Linked DNA regions of Homo sapiens: region 2 is linked to region 1. Evidence: promoter capture Hi-C in 16 types of primary human blood cells and fetal thymus (Javierre and others, 2016). All regions are on one chromosome and are shown on one strand. The core of a region is centred on a gene start or on the middle of the fragment in contact, and the rest is flanking DNA. Distances in the headings are between cores, read along the strand shown. Region 1 holds the start of DSG3 (desmoglein 3). Region 2 has its middle 79 kb from the start of DSC3.

Evidence for each region. Contacts are between HindIII fragments. The CHiCAGO score rates a contact against its expected background, and 5 or more counts as called.
Region 2: a contact is called between a fragment that was not itself captured here and the fragment with the promoter of DSG3 in region 1, in 1 of 17 cell types (M2 macrophages). The highest score is 5.2, in M2 macrophages.

Annotation. Positions count from the first base shown.
Region 1 is chr18:31,446,460-31,449,159 of GRCh38, forward strand. It overlaps DSG3 (desmoglein 3), which reads left to right and starts at 1,282. Exons shown (of 16, transcript NM_001944.3): 1 at 1,282-1,466. The coding sequence starts at 1,419. The HindIII fragment of the contact is 20,227 bases long and covers 1-2,700 here.
Region 2 is chr18:30,962,505-30,965,204 of GRCh38, forward strand. No RefSeq gene overlaps it. Among named protein-coding and RNA genes, the nearest start is that of DSC3, 79 kb to the right of the region's middle. The HindIII fragment of the contact is 2,065 bases long and covers 245-2,309 here.

The DNA of each region.
Region 1 (2,700 bases), core at 32-2,531:
TTAGCCGGGCGAGTTGGCGGGAGCCTGTAATCTCAGCTACTCGGGAAGCTGAGGCAGGAGAATCACTTGAACCCGGAAGGCGGAGCTTGCAGTGAGCCGAGATCGCGCCATTGCACTCCGGCCTGGGCAACACAAAGAGACGCAGTCTCAAGTAAGTAAGTAAGTAAATAAATAAATAAATAAATAAGAATAATGTTTCATTTTCTGTACTACTCGGGAGCCTGAGGCAGGAGACAGCCTCCTCAATTCAGGAGAATTGCTTGAACCCGGGAGGCAGAGGTTGCAGTGAGCCGAGATCGCGCCACTGCTCTCCAGTCTGAGCGACAGAGCGAGACCCCGATTCAAAAAAAAAACTGTGATTAAGTGGTTTCTAAAACCTAATGTGTAATACTTGCAAAGATAAAATTGCTCTTCTACCAAACCTTTCTTTCAATATTTCTGAAACTGTAAAAAGTACTTTAAATTCTAATGTTATAAGCAAAGTAGCTAAAATGGGGCTGGTAATTTTTCCCCTCTGCTTTATCTTGGGTTAGAGTCGAAGTATTTAAGCACTTCCGAGTATGTAACAGCAAGCAGGTTCACCACACTGGGGAAAATGTCTTGAGTAATGAAAAGAGCACCAAGATAATCTACCTTATTAGGCAATCTAGGCTTTTTTGAAAGTTATAAATGAAAAGAAATACAGTATAAAAGATGTCATTTGAGTATTATCAGAGTAATTTTGCAACGCATTATTTATATATTTCAAATATTCAAGGCACCATATAACTGTTCAATTTTATTTCTTTTTTTTTTTTTATTCAAAGCCTACATTCATAGTTGCTTAATGGGATGTTTTTCTTCTTCATATTTTTAGTGCCTTTCAATAAAATATATCATTGCTTAACATCTACATTTTGCTTAACTTTAGATCTACCCACACATACTCAGGCTGAAAATAAATGCTCTTTTACAAGTTAGATTTTGGGGGATTTTGTACGTTTTGCTTTGCTTTTCGGTTTTCATTGTAACCATAGTCAACTAGATTCAGCCATAAGACATCAACACTGACAAAGTGTAGTCCGGACTAGCTTTTGCACTTCCACATCATGATTAATTTATTATTCATCTGGTACCTTCCTATTAAACTTTGTCTTTAGCCTGTGAACTTTTCTTTCAGCTTCCAACAAAGGATTTCATTGCTTTAGGAATCGAGGTGTGGCTAAGTTTTTACCTGGGAGCAAAGGTGATGCAAGCGTTTCTGGTGAGACCTACCCTTGGTTTAGGGTGGGGAGGGACCGCATAACAGACCATCTGTAGACTCCTTCGGAAAGCAGCAGAGACGCTGCAGAGGGCTTTTCTTAGACATCAACTGCAGACGGCTGGCAGGATAGAAGCAGCGGCTCACTTGGACTTTTTCACCAGGGAAATCAGAGACAATGATGGGGCTCTTCCCCAGAACTACAGGGGCTCTGGCCATCTTCGTGGTAAGTCCTGGATTTTCCTAATAATCACAAACTTCCCTGCTTCCTCCCTTGTTAAAGAATATTATATTTGATTGCACAATCTTTATTATAAATTCTAAAAGGAGTGCAGTGGAAATCAACACTTTGAAATGAAATCGTGAAGATTACCAATTTCCTTCTTTTGTTGTTTTTTATGTTGTATTTTACATAGAAAAATAAACCAGAAAGAAATGAGTTTTAAAAACCATTTAGAATTTTTTTTAGTTAATGAATTAAGTAATCTTAATCACAGGTTATATTTTCCACAACATTTTCACTTTCTTTAAAGTTATGCTTTTACTAGTTTTTCTAACCCACAAACAAGAACACAGGAGCCACTTCTATTTTCCAAGATTACATGTCTCTTAGCATATAGCTAAGAACTCTACACGCCTGGGCTTGATACCTGACACGCTTTTAAAAGTAAAAAATCGCAGAATTAAAATCAAAGCAGTGTTTGACTCTAGAGAAGTTGGGAGGATTATTAAGTAAGTATTTATGTTTAGCTATTATGTGCCAAAAGAAAATGTCAGCCTTTGGGGATGGGGGGAAAGACATACAACATTTTAAAGCCATTTTTTTCAGAAAAGTAATACTTCTGTTGATTGAGAAAGTCGTACATAGTATTATCTAAAAGAGAAACGGAATGTTACAGACTGTTTAAAACCTGGATGTTACAGACTAACTTACTCCTTAACTGTGTTCTTATAGCAAAAAAAAAAAAAGAAAAGTCACAATATTATCTGTTACACGGAGATATCAAAATAGTTAAATATACCTTAAAAATGAATGTCAAAACAATTCCTAATGCTAATTTGTATGGTTTCCATGATAAGCTGGGTTGGCCTAGGCATCAATTTACCTCATTTCTTCATGAAAAAAATTGAGATAAATGGACTTCAAGAAGTCACAGGGAGATAGATCTCAAGAAAGGACTTTCTTAGCTCTCCCTAAGATTTTTGTTTTTGTTTTTGTTTTTGAGACAAGGTCTGGCTCTGTTGCCCAGGCTGGAGTGCAGTGGTGCGATCTCCAACTTCTGCCTCTGGGGTTCAAGTGATTCTCGTGCCTCAGCCTCCTGAGTAGCTGAGATTACAGGCGTGCACCACCACAGCCAGCTAATTTTTTTGTATTGTTAGTAGAGATGGGGTTTTGCCATGTTGACCAGTCTAGTCTCAAACTCCTAGCCTCAATGGATCCGTCCACCTCGGCCTCCCAT
Region 2 (2,700 bases), core at 27-2,526, 480 kb before region 1:
GCCTGAATATTTCTTGAGTTCTTGATGAAAGCAAAATTATATCAGTCAGTGATTCAGATATAACTTCATGTTTGGAGGAGAGAGTTGTTTCCTAACAGCCACCTGAAACTCTAAGCTAACTTGCTTCTCCCTATTATAAATATGGAATTCTACAAAATCATCTGTCTCCCCTGGACCCCTATCCTAGCTACAGTTTCATTGTCACTCTTCCAGGTCCTTCTGGTTTGATACTAGTATCTTTCCAAGCTTCTGTTTAGTCTCTTCAATCTTGAGACATTGTTTCCAGACGTTTCCCTCATTTCCCCTTCCTGTCTTAATTCACACTTCCTTCCAGGAATTATCCTAGCCATACACTTTCTGCTTATAATAATTCTGTCTTCCTTCAATAAGTTTTTGTGATATTATAAAAATAACATTCCTAAGATCAATATGTTCATCTAGATATAGATGAAGAAATCTGTTAACTTGTTAAAATAGGTATTTTGGTTTTCTTTGAATTGTGCAGAAGAAACAACGTTCCACCGCCTATAAAGCAGTGCTTCTCAAACCTGATTGTGTAGAGGAGAACAGATTTTTTTCTCACCCATCATAAGGTGCATTGCTGACTCCTCATGACAAAAGGCAGTTGTTCATGTCATGGCAGCCTTCAAAAATGAAGACAGAAAGACCCAGGGAAAACCATGTATTGTTATGGACAGTCATGCAGAAGTTTGAATGGTAAGAAATTGAAGGGAAGTTGACAAGGTTTGTTTGTCCAGATCCTTCTTGGTGTTTCTGAGTGACATGCCTTTCCTCCGGTTTTAGGGCAGGACACCTTTCAAATGAGGGTGTTCAGAGGAGAAGCAGCGGAATAGATGGGAGAGGTTTCCTAGGTCTTATGACCTGCTTCAGGGGATAATGGAGGAGGAAGAGTGAGAGTGGCCTTCCTGCTTCTGCTGGTTCCTCAAATGCCAAAGAGCCCTATTTTGGGGTAGCACTTTCTGCACCACATCAACCACACACAAGAAATACATGCTGGGGCCCAAGGCCCACCTCAGGGGCTCTGATTTAAATGACTTTGGGTGAAGCCCAGTCATCTGTATTTTTAAAGTGATTCTGATATACAATCAAGGACAAAAATCTGTTGTAATGTGTTAGATTATAGAACTCTGGGTAAAAAGAGCAGCCCTGAGTAAGGAAATTACTACCAGCTCAGGTTCAGTAGAGACAAAGAAAGTACTGAGAACAGATGTTCTGAGGTAGACTTGCATGAGAAGAGGCAACAAAAATAGTCAGGGAAGCTGGGAACCAGGGAACAGGGTAGACTGTCAATGTTGAAAGAATTTAAAGGCCATTTGTGAACAATTTATACTCAAAACTAAGGACAGAATTAGTAACAGGAAGATGTTAAGGATGTATTTAATGACTTAAACTAGGAGCAGAGTGTAAACTAAGATAATGAGTCAGGCCGAAATCAAATAAAAGAGATAATAAACCTACTCTTAGAAAGAGAGATGATCAAAATTAATGCCAAATCTAGTTAGTAAAAGGAAAAAAAAAAAAAAAAAAACCAAGAAAACAAAAAGAAACCTTCCCTAGCCCCCTGAGACTACCTCTACCATCTATCTCTTCCTCTTCCCTCCACAGCCCAGGCAGCATGGCTAAGAAATACGGTCCTATTTTTAATACTTCTTTGCCTCCAGGTACTCATCCACTTGTCCACTCACAGTGGTCGGCTTTCCAGAACAAGGACTCCAGAGCCACTCTCACTAGGTTCATCTGTGACCTCTTTATTGCGATATTGCATGGGCCTCTTTCAGTAATCTTATGGGGACTCTCAAGCAGACTTTGTCAGAGTTGATTGCTCTCTTATTGAATTCCTCTCTCTTCCCTTGGCTTCTATGACATATCATCCTACTGGTTATCCTCCTATATCCTGGAAAAATCTTATTTTTTCACCTTAGTGTTCTCTTCTTACTTTTCTCAGGATCTGTCTTTAGCCCACCTCACACTCCACACTATACCCAGGCATTTTTATCAACTCCTGTGGTTCAACTGTTCTCAGAAGGCTGATGATGCACACATCTTTGTCTCCTGTACAGACACCTCCTCCAAGCTATAGAACTTGCATGTTCTCTCAGATTTTTCATGGGCACATTTACACTCAATATGTTCAAAACTGAGTTCATGATCTTTCTCTAAATTCTTATGATCAGATTCCCTTAGTCACCAATGTCAGAATTAATAAATCATTCTTGATGTTTTTTCTCCCTCTCTCCCCTATGCAAAATGCATAATCCTCCTCCACAAGGTATGGTCTAAGGACAAGAAGCTTTGACATCACCTGGGAGCTTGTTAGAAATGCAGAATCTCAGGCCTCACTTCAGACCTATTGACTCGGAATCTGTAGTTTTCAAGATCTTCTGGGTATTCTTACATACAGTAATGTATATACACTGCTCTGAAATTCACACCTTAAAAATGCCTCAAATTCAACTCCCACTCTTTATCTCTGATGTAACTATCATAAGCTGAGCTGTGGGTTCTCAAAACTTGCTGCATAGTACAATCCCTTGGGGTTTTTTTTTGTAAATACCAATGCCAGGTTCTAGACCTCCAGATTCTGATTTAATTCATCCAGAGTGGAGCCCAGGAATCTGTAAGTTTAAAAAGATCCCCAAGATGTTTCACTATGTAGCCAGAACGAAGAACCATTTATCT